3 separate regions of the Homo sapiens genome follow, and regions 2 and 3 are each linked to region 1. Evidence: promoter capture Hi-C in 16 types of primary human blood cells and fetal thymus (Javierre and others, 2016). All regions are on one chromosome and are shown on one strand. Each heading gives the region's core, a stretch centred on a gene start or on the middle of the fragment in contact. The rest is flanking DNA. Distances are from core to core; before and after follow the strand shown.

What was found. The method cuts DNA at HindIII sites, captures the fragments that hold promoters and counts their contacts. A CHiCAGO score of 5 or more calls a contact.
Region 2: a contact is called between the fragment with the promoter of RARG here and the fragment with the promoter of MYG1 in region 1, in 1 of 17 cell types (endothelial precursors). The highest score is 5.2, in endothelial precursors.
Region 3: the fragment with the promoter of ITGB7 here is called in contact with the fragment with the promoter of MYG1 in region 1 in 7 of 17 cell types (activated CD4 T cells, endothelial precursors, M2 macrophages and 4 more); the score reaches 7.8 in activated CD4 T cells.

What each region holds. Positions count from the first base shown.
Region 1 is chr12:53,298,297-53,301,830 of GRCh38, reverse strand. It overlaps MYG1 (MYG1 exonuclease), which reads right to left and starts at 2,136. Exons shown (of 7, transcript NM_021640.4): 1 at 1,878-2,136; 2 at 1,569-1,681. The coding sequence starts at 2,093. PFDN5 (prefoldin subunit 5) reads right to left here. Exons shown (of 6, transcript NM_002624.4): 6 at 2,381-2,562. The coding sequence ends at 2,486. RefSeq lists enhancers at 1,912-2,091, 2,162-2,221, 2,032-2,326, 2,232-2,331, 2,372-2,461 and 1 more. The HindIII fragment of the contact is 10,124 bases long and covers 1-3,328 here.
Region 2 is chr12:53,230,321-53,233,845 of GRCh38, reverse strand. It overlaps RARG (retinoic acid receptor gamma), which reads left to right and starts at 1,637. Exons shown (of 10, transcript NM_000966.6): 1 at 1,637-1,872; 2 at 2,611-2,677. RefSeq lists silencers at 1,452-1,501, 1,822-1,951. The HindIII fragment of the contact is 21,807 bases long and covers 1-3,525 here.
Region 3 is chr12:53,205,931-53,209,617 of GRCh38, reverse strand. ITGB7 (integrin subunit beta 7) reads left to right here and starts at 2,367. Exons shown (of 16, transcript NM_000889.3): 1 at 2,367-2,416. The HindIII fragment of the contact is 16,923 bases long and covers 1-3,687 here.

The sequences.
Region 1 (3,534 bases), core at 887-3,386:
TGTAGTCTCAGCTACTTGGGAGGCTGAGGCAGGAGAATCACTTGAACCCAGCAGACGGAGGTTGCAGTGAGTCGAGATCACATCACTGCACTCCAGCCTGGGTGACAGACGAGACTCCATCTTAAAAACAATTTGATAAAAGGAAGTGGTCAATAATGCCAAGTGCTAAAGAGATCAGTTGAGACCCTTTACCAGCTCCCTGGTTTGGTGCTGAGGTAACTGGTGCCCTTCTGCCGAGCAGTTCCAGAGAAGACACTGGGAGAGTGGGCTTGAGGGGAATGAACTGGAAAGGAACAGGTGAAGCCACGGTCAGCTGTTTTTTGAAGGGTGGCTGAGAAGCAAGGGTGAGAGCTTAGGCTGTAAATATTGGGAGGGTTTCTTCCTGACATCATTTATAATATGTATGCTAAAAAAAGAAAAAAGGAGAGAGACTTAAAACATCATAATCCCTCTCTCCAAGATAATTACTTCTCGTGGTGTGGTATAATTGAGGGAGGGTTTTGTTTTTACACCTGTGTTTCTTTTCAAGATGGAAGATACTTGAGAAGGGTTTTAGGCTGTAGGGAAGGAGAGGCAGAGACACTAGTGGAACTGTGACATGAAATCCCAGAGGATAGGCCAACAGTGGCTCACACCTGTAATCCCAGCACTTTGGGAGGCCAAGGCGGGGCAGATCACAAGGCCAGGAGTTCGAGACCACTCTGGCCAATATGGTGAAACCCGTCTCTACTAAAAATACAAAAATTAGCCGGGTGTGGTGGTGGGTGCCTGTAGTCCCAGCTACTCGGGAGGCTGAGACAGGAGAATCGCTTGAACCTGGGAGACAGAGGTTGCAGTGAGCCGAGATCGTGCCACTACACTCCAGCTTGGGCGACAGTGGGAGACTCCGTCTCAAAAAAAAAAAAAAAGAAAAGAAAAAAGAATCCCAGAGAAGAAAGTAATAGACTGGAAACAGGACAGAGGATTAACCTCCAATAGAAGGGAAGAAATTTCCCTTAGTTGGTAGGAGGGAGCTGAGGATGTTTGAGGTGGGAGACTGAGGAAATGCTCAACTTCTTTTGAAAAGAGGCAGGGACACTCAGTTTGATGCGGTAGAGGCTTGAGGGAGAAGAAAAGGATTGGAATGGGCTACCCTTGAGCAAGAAGGATTTCCCTTTGGAAGGGTGTAAATGAAGTAGAAAACTTCACACATCTGAACTGTCACCAACTGCCACAATCATGTGGGCCCAGCAGTTAGGTGCAGCAGCAAGGGCACCAGAATGGATTAATCACAGATGGGTTTATTTAGTTGGGGTGATGAAGTTGCTGATGGAAAAAAAGCCTTGGCTAAGGAAGGAGATGAGATAAGGGGCCTGAGGGACTCCCTGGGAACCAAAGGAGGTCCCAGGCCAGGGAGATGGGTGAAGAACAGGCAGGGCCGGAAGGATGATGTAGTCCTAGTGGGAGTTTGATTTCAGTGATGAAGCAGTTCTTTTCGCTGACGCGGACTACGGCAGTGGATGGCTGAATTGGAGCACAGAGGAAAGCTGAGGTCAAGGAAGTTAAATAAATGGTATCTGAGAACCTACCTCTGGTGATGGTCATATCGGTGTCTCCGAGGGTCGTACTCGCCCCCCACGTCCACCACGATGTCACAGGAAGCGAGTTTTTCGGGATCCCGGGTCCGCACAATCTCTGCATCCTGCGAGGTACACAGGGGTGAAGGGGCTGCCGGGTGTCGCCGGGTAGGGGATTAATGCTGGACTTCAGGGAGGCAGGAAGGGTAGGAAGGGTGCTTGGGCTGCCGGGCGCTATCGGAGTGACCCTGTTGGCGGAATGCCATCCACCCCGGAGGCATGCATGCACGCAGTCCCAGGGTCACTTTTCGCGGACCGTACCCGGTACTCCGGCAGGAGGCGAAGCAGTGCGCATGCCAGTGCCTCGTCGCAGTGGAAGGTGCCATTGTGCGTCCCGATTCGGGGCGGTGCCATGAGTTTGCTGCGGGATCGTTTTGGGGGCGGGACGGACTCTGGACCGAGCATGCGGTGCCGGGTATACAGGGGTGGCGGCGGCAGCAGCAGCGTTAAGAGGCCGCGCAGGAATTGGTGTCCCATAAGCAGCTCCCTGCAGGGAGGCAGGAGCGCCGACCCGGAAGAGGAAGCGCCAGCGCAGCCCCACTTCCGCTTGCCAACCGTTCCCTTGGCAACCAGCTCTGCAGAGTGAGCAGCAGCAGACTCCCAGCCTAGGATTTCTTCCAGCTGGTCAAAGGGCCCTGCGATGGAGCCTCCAAGAGGCGCATCGCATCACCCCTGCGCATCAGGCTCTGAGACGGGGCCCACACTCTCGACCACACCCCCCATCTCATCACCAGTCCCTTGCTTAATCCAAGAAAAGACCAACATTCTGCCCAGCTGGCACATTTATTGGCATTAAAACACAAGACCCTTCCCATCACCAGGAAGCCACGCCCAAAGGGTGTCCCTCTGCCCCATTTCTGCAAAAACTCTCAGGCCTTAGCAGTAGCCTGAGCTGCCCCCAGGGCTGTGAGCTGCTGAATCTTCTGACTCATCATTTCCATGACGGCTGTGGAAAAAAATAAGAGTCAAAGGTTAGAAGCAAAAAGGAGAACCTAGAGTTAAGGAGAAGTGACAGGCAAGTTTAAGGACAGGCGACCGACTAACTACAGTTTGTTAATAACCTTTTTTTTTTTTTTTTGAGACAGAATCCTGCTCTTGTCACCGAGGCTGGAGTGCAGTGGCACGATCTTGGCTCACAGCAACCTCCGTCTCCCGGGTTCAAGCGATTCTCCTGCCTCATCCTCCCGAACAGCTGGGATTACAGGCATGCACCACCATGCCCGGGCTAACTTTGTATTTTTAGTAGAGATGGGGTTTCACCATGGTGGCCAGGCTGGTCTTGAACTCCTAACCTCAGGTGATCCACCTGCCTTGGCCTCCCAAAGTGCTGGGATTACAGGCGTCAGCCACTGCGCCTGGCATTGTTAATAAAACTTTAACTCAGTGATCCACTGTGGGGTCACTAACACAAATTTAGGGTCTACAATGCATCGGTCAATATGCTAACACAGCTGGGTGTGGTGAGAATGAGACTCTTCTCGGAAAAAAAAAAAACCTGCTAACCAAAGATATAAAAACGAACACAATATGGTATTAAATGAGTCTGACATAATCAGAAAACTATGATGGGGAAAGATTTTTACCTTTGGAACACTGGTTCTGAATCCTGATTATAACAGAGGGGAGCTTTTTTAAAAAAAAACAGACCTTGGTACAACTTCCCCTCCTTTGACTTCCAAGTTGATTTAGTCAATCTGGAATGGGCCCAAGCTTTCTTTTTAAACTTCCTGAGTGATTCTCATGTGCAGTCGGGGTTATAATTGCTGGTATTTAGTTCGTTTGGATCATGATTCCTTCCTGTGTGTTCATCTCATTCCCCCATTCCATCGTCATTAAATAGGAGCTCCACCAAAGCACAAACATGATTTCCTTCCTCTAAATTTCTCAAACGCTCAACCCAGGAATCTACAGATAGTGA
Region 2 (3,525 bases), core at 388-2,887, 67 kb after region 1:
GCGGGGCGCCATCCCACCCCAGCCTGGACGCCTGGGTCCAACTCCCTGACACCCGCCCCTCCCACACTGCTGAGAGCTGCTCCCAGGGTAACCAAGCAAAGTCAACAGCAGCTAGGCCACCTGGGGACGGGACCCTGGAGTATCTATTCCTAGCTCTTCCTATCCCTGGAGTGAAAGAGAGGGCTTGTCTGCACCCCCATTGCCATCTCCCATTCCCTGAGGTAACCACAGCATGCCTCTTCTTTCCCCCATCTCCTTCACCTGACTTTGGCTACCAAAAGCAGCCTTTCCCAGGAGGGAGGACACCTGGCCCCCAGGGGGGAGCAAGGACAAAGCCAAGTAATTCCAGTATGGAAAATGTGACGTGACCCAGGAGTCTGTGTCCCAGGTCCTGGTCACCCTGCGAGCATTGCTGGGGAAGGTACTTTGGGTATGTCTGTCCAGCCTATCAGCCTAGCTCAGACTCTCCCCTTCTCCTCTTTCTCCCTCCCAACTCCAGTCCCCATGGGAGTGTTTGGGATCCGTGCACAGAGCTTGGACTGCAGACCCATTCTTTTCTCTCCCTCTGTCCTCAGTAGAATGCAGAGTGAAACCACTGGGTTCTCTCACTCTAGGGTTGAGAGTCTGTCTATGTTGAAGCAGATAATGCCCCCATCAGACACAGACACTCACTCTCGGCACTGGCATGCGCACGCGCTTGCACAGACACACACACACACACACGCACACACACACACACCCGGAGTCAACAGCATTCATGGCACATCTACCAGGCAGGCAGGCAGGCAGGCCGGTGCTGGCTAGGGCAGACACACACCCTCTGCCTGGGCTTTCTCTCTCACACCCAGCCCAAGGCTCCTCCCACTCCCAGCCACAGTTCCTCCTGCCCTCCTCTCCAGCCTCTCCCCTTCCAAATCCAGGCCTAAAGGTGGGGGACAACTGGCAGCCAGGGACCCAGGCGCCCTAACTCCTGGAGCTTACTCCAGGCAAGATGACAGGGAAGATGTCTGTGAGCCCTGGCCTCAGCACCCCCAGCAACAGCCACTAGTCAACCAGTTTGCTCCTGGGACCAAAGGACTGAGGTGGGCTAGGGGAAGGGAGAGGCTACTTGGATCTGCAGGTGAAGGCTGAGCAAAGAGTAAGGGCAGGAGCATCTATTCTAGATCTGGCATACTCCTGCCCGGCCAATCCAGCACTGGGAGGGAGTGGGTACCGCCCCATTGCCTACCCTGGGGAGGCGCCAGAGACTGGCCTCGCAAGAGTCACAGCCTGGCCACAGACAACTCAACTAGTCCCCCCAAAAGGCAGAAAGGAGAAAAGTGCCAGAGAGAAAAGGTTGGCATCACGGGGCCAGGACACTGACCTCCTCTGCCAGCCGTGCCCGGCCTCCCAGAGGATGGAGTCACGGAAGCCTAGCAAATGGGAAGGGCAGAGACCCAGGCGTCCCGGGCCGCCCCGCCCAGTCCCCCTCCCGCCCACCCATCCCTCCGCCCCCCAGCCCCAGGGCACAGAGGAGGGAGCCGGGCAGGGGCAGGCAGGGGAGGGAGGAGCGAGGGCGGGAGGGGGAGGAGGGAGTTGGGCAGGGAGGGAGGTTGGGGGGGGGGTGGGGAGGGAGAAAAAGAAAGAAAATATTTTCCGTGTCCCCGCCTGCAGAGTCAGTGTGCGGTTTGGGAGAAAATGTGTCGGATATTTTGGGGCGGTCACGTGGGCGGGCGGGCTCCGAGAGGCCCCGGGACAGTCCCAGCCTAGAGCCGTGCCCCCCCAGGAGCCCCCCAGTACGGCGAGCCCCGGACATTGCGACGCTCCATCCAAGAGACTGCCCGACGCCGGGACCTCGGGGCTCCGCCGCCTCCCTTCCCCCTCCCACTCCAGGTGAGTCAGGCGGGGAAGCAGGCTCGCCCGCCCCGTCGCCTGGGTCCTCCGGCGAGGCGGCTGGGGGAGGGGGCGCGGAGGAGCTGCACGGGCGAATGCCCTCCCGAGGCTGGCCAGGCTGGCCGCCGGGCTTGAGGGGGGCTTCTTGCCCCGACCCAGGCCAGTCCTGCTGTGGGAAGGGAATGGGGAAGATTTTAACAGGCTGAGGATGGGCTGGGTCATCTGCCCTTCATTTTGGTGCATAGCAGAGGACAGCATTTGGGGAAGTCTTCAGCCAGGGGGCATTCCTCCTTATATTTTTGTGCTGGGAATGTGAGAGAAGACAGGGTTTCCTCTCGCGGGGAAAGACTACCACCCCCTTACCCCCGGGCTCTGAGGGGTAGATTTGATGTTCCATGCTGGTCCAAGTTCCTCCCTCCCCAGTGGAATGGGACAGCTTGGACATCAGAAGGCAAGGAAAACGTCCAGAGGCAAGTGAGCCTGGCCCTCCGCGTCCAGGAGTTCCGAAGGACTGGTGCATAGGATAGGGATCTGTGAACTTTCCTTGAAGCGCTGGATTCCCTCCCACACGTTCCCAGCCCAGGTGCGAGCCTTGGCTCCCTCCAGCCAAGGTGGGGGGCACCTCTGGAGTATTCTTGAGGGAAGCCCAAATGGAACAAAGAAAGAGCAGGAAGACCGGGACAGGGACCCAGGAGTGCTGGTCCCAGAGTTCCACTGACGCTGCCTCTCTGTCTTTAGCAGCTACGGCCCAGTTCCCTCAACCTGACCCAGTATGTAGAAGCCAGTCTCTGCAGGCGGCCAGCGGGTAAGAAGATGCTTGGTTGTTAGTGGTGGTGGGGGCAGGGGAGCCTGAGTAGGAGGTCTTCAGGGCAAGAAACTGAGATGACTGTCCCGCTTTAGGGCTCTGGTCCTGGGCAGCTGGAATCCCAATCCTCAAGTCTGAGGCTTCTGCCCTTAGGGTCAGATGCTGAGTTGGGGTCAAGGACCATAGCCAGCATCTCATATCCTTGAGGCAAGTAGAGAGAAGACAGGGGAGTGGGGGTAGTGTGTGCAGGGAGCCTGGAGCTTGGGTATCCCATATAGACAGACATACACACACACACACACACACACACACACACACACACACACACACACGCACTGTGGCCTACAGCCTAGTAGGCAGCATGGGGCACGCCCCCCCACACCCCGGCACACCCCCACCCCTGGCTCAGAAAGCCACCTAACTGGCACCTCCAGTTCCCCCCTCTGCCCCACCCTGTCCATGCCCTCTGATGCCCACACACATTCCACTGGCATTGCCTGCCTGCCTCCTGGGCACTGCCCCTCCCTGGGGCTAGTAGGGTGGAGGGAGGGCACCTGGGGATGAGAGGTGGAGACTCAAGGGTCTGGACTCCCCCAGGGATGGCACAATGCCAAGGAAGCCTGGCCCACTGCTGCCTCCTGGGGAGCAGGCTGGGGGCCCAGGCTAGAGCAGAGGATGCCTGGGTTCTCTGCCCAGGCTGGAGATGGGGTCATGGAAAAAGGTGGTCGTGTTTATACAGAGGGGAGGGGGGCAGCGGGTGGAGAGTGGCCGACAAGAGCAGCTTTGTTCCAGGCTCTGGAGCGGGCAGGGCGACAGGGAAACACACCCCCCTCCATCCGGCAGCCCCC
Region 3 (3,687 bases), core at 1,118-3,617, 92 kb after region 1:
GCCTGCCCTGAAGTTTCATTTAGTTCTCATGAGGGCTCCTGGCCCCAGAAGAGAAGAAGCCCGCATCTAAGCTACAGTGTTACTGTTTTACACCAGCCCCTCACCCAGGGAGCCCTCTGGCCTTCTGTCCCCAACCACCCTGCTATCACCTTATACCTTACTCCCCCCACCCTCTCTGTTCCCACTCTTCACCCCATGACCTCCACTCACTGCCACCTGCACTGTTACCTTCTTTCCGAATATCTGTCCTTGCTCCCACACGCCTTCCCTCTGCAACACGCCTTTGCAGTGCCTTTGGCCTCTACTGCTGCACCCTGTACTCTTCCCTTCGCCCTCTGTGACTCCCCTCAAGCCCCTCCTCCGTGTCCTACCTTCCCTGGGACAGTGCCTTGCCTACCTTGTTCCTGGCTCTCTTCATTGGTGACCTGTGGTTATGACAAAAAAGTTGAGGATGTGGGAGTAGGGGAGAGAAGAGTGGAGGGCGGAAAGCAGAAGAAGAAAGTGAAAGAAGCTCTAGAGGAAACCACAGGGCCTGTGGGGAAGGAGGGTCATTGCCGTGGTAACCCCTGGTTGTGGGGGAAGGGTATAGGTCCTGGCTATCCCATAGCCTGAGGCCAGCCAAGCCCACCCAGAGAAAGAGCCCCTCCTCTCCAATTGTCCCCTCCTAGCAGCTACACCTCTGCAATCCATCTGACATTTATTGAGCACCTACTATAAGATGGGCACTTGGCTAGGTGTGGTGGCTCCAGCAGGGAAGCCTTGTAGAGCCAGTCCCTGCCTACAAGGAGTGCTCCTTCTGGTAGGGGAGATCGACCTGTGAACACAGACCTCATGTCTAGTTCCCTCTCAAAGCTCTTAGTGATCTGTATGGGCCAGGAGCAAATCCCATTAATATTTTCCTGCTCTCCCTACGGGCTTCATCCTTGCCTTGGCTTCAGCTGTTGTTCCTGCACTCTCTGCTTCTCCCAGTTCACCTCCTCCACCCCTTTCCCAGGATCCACTACTGTGTTGGCTCCTGGTTCCCCAATCACATGCTCTGAGCCTGGCCCTATGCCTCTCTCTTCCAAGTTTCCAGTTGTGTGGACCTTGAATTTCTCAAAGCCTCTTCACTTCTCACCTCTGCTACTTCTCATCCCTACTAATTCTCTTATCAAGCCCTTACTTAGTATGTGCCAGGTAGTCTTGTAGGCAATTGATATGAATTATCTCTTTTAATTCTCACGACAATCCTGTGAGTCTTGCTGGACAGATGAGAAAACAGCTGCAGGCAGGTTTAAGTAACTCAGCTAAGCTCCTTACTACTAGTAAGTAGTAGAGCCAGGATTTGAACTCTAGCAACTTGGCTCCAGAGCCTATGTAGTCAAGCACACTTATATAATGTATCCTGGGTTTTCAAAATGAACAAGTCTGTAATTTCTGGCCTCTCTACAGTACTTACTGCCCCTATTCCCTCCTATCATGTTCCTTCCTATATAAGTAAATGGAGAGATCATGAATTTTGGAGGCAGGCAGACCTGGATTTAAATCCCAGACCAGCCGAGTGTGCCTGTAATCCCAGCTACTCAGGAGGCCAAAGTGGGAGGATTGCTTGAGTCCAGGAGTTACAGACCAGCCTGGGCAACACAGCAAGACCCTGTCTCAAAAATAAAAAACAGGCTGGGCATGGTGGCCCACACCTGTAATCCCAGCACTTTGGGAGGCCGAGGTGGGCAGATCAATTGAGGTCAAGAGTTTGAGACCAGCCTGGCCAACATGGTGAAACCCCGTCTCTATTAAGAATATAAAACGTTGCTGGGCATGGTAGTGCACCCCTGTAATCCCAGCTATTCGGGAGGCTGAGGCAGGAGAATCGCTTGAACCTGGGAGGCGGAGTTTGCAGTGAGCTGAGATTGTGCCATGGGACAGTGAGCTGAGATTGTGCCTGGGAAACAGAGCAAGACCCTGTCTCAAAAGTTAAATTAAATTAAAATAAAAAAAATAAAATAATAAAAATTTAAAATAAAAATCTTTTTTCTTTTTTTTTTTTAAATCCTAGACTAGCTACTTACTAGCTGTGGGACCTTGGGCAAAATTCTTTATTTCCTGCTTCCAAGCCTCAATCTCTGCATCTGTAAAATTGGGGCTTGGGGGAATATTAACCCCTATCTTATGAGATTGTTGTGAGGGTTAATTGTAATATGTTACGTTCAACACATGACAGGGGTTCAATAAATGGGCTTCTTTCTTCCAGATCTCTGTATTGTCCACTCCCTTGGCTCAGCCCCACCCCTATCTGCACCACCTTCTAGATCAGTCACCCCCACCAACCCCAAATCTTCCCCACCCTGGGGAGTGTCACTTCCTCCTCTGCCGTCTCCCAGATCAGTACACAAAGGCTGCTGCTGCCGCCAGAGGAAGGACTGCTCTGCACGCACCTGTGAGTACCAGGGCACCAGCCCTTCTGCCTCCTCTCCTTACAAGCTCTGGCCCACCTGGTCCCAACCTCTTGGGAAGAGGGCTCTGACCTGGATACCGAGGGTCCTGTCCAGACTTGAGAAAGGCTCTGAACTCCTTTCTGCATTCCTAAGATCCCCTGACCTGGTTCCCTCCTCCAGTTTCACAGTACCCCCACCTCCACCTCTCCAAAAGCCCAATCTCTCCTGCATCAGTTTCCCATGAGTGGGTCTGGAGGCAGGGATGTATATGAGTGCTGTCATCTGAGTGCCTGCCATGTGCCAAGGACTATACCGAAGTAGGGCAGGTATACCGATTATACTGAGGGAGGGTTCTTCCAACATCACCCCCAGCTGCTATCCCTAATGCTCTGCCTTCAGCTCAGACTTCTTCCTAATCGGCACCTTGGTCACAGACTCCACTGTCCTGGGACACTGAGGCCCAGCAGCTCAGTTCCGTCCCCTCCTTGTGACTCCCAGTGGGCAGCAGAGGGTTCTGCTTGATTTGGAAGGTAGGGATGGGTTTGGAAGAGGCTCTGTTTCTCAGCTGCTGAGGGGGGTCACAGGGTGTGTACTGGAGTCAGAATGGAGTCCAGAAAAATGGAAATAACCACTTGGTCCCAGAGAGAGAAGGGAAGACTGCAGAATACCCCTAAGGAAAGAGAAATGGGATTAGGCAGAGCCCACCAGGGCTAGTGGGGAGAGAACACAACTTTTGATGGAGATAGTGCCTGGGTTGGAGGGAGGAAAGGAGAAAGCACAGCAGAGGCCTGGCCCTGCCCTGTCCTGCCCTGCCCCTAGTTCACTGGGTGACCCTGGCCTCATGGAATTTAGGTTTCCATTTGTAAAAAGAGTGGGATGGAGTAGTAGATTCAGCCATTCTATAGTTAGGAACAGAGGGGAAAAGGAAGTAAAATAGCCCTATGAAGAAGTGGAGCAGAGAAAAGCAGCAGAGAGATGCAATAGAAGTTTTGAAATGAAAGGAGCCAGAGAGAGACAGAGAAGCAGACAGAGAAATAGGTGGCAGAACATGTATTCTCAAGGAGGGGAGAAGAGAGGATAATTGGAAAGAAAGGTAGGAAAGGGCTGTCCAGGAAGTCCCAGGGCCCCCTTTAAGGGGAGATGAGTGGGCCTAAGGTCTCTGAAAAACCTATGCGGCAGCCGGGGCTCCACTTGTGAGAGATGAGTCAAAACCCGGCTTTGGGTTGCAGCATCTCCAGCCTCCCTGACCACAGGCATGCAGAGCAAGCAGGGC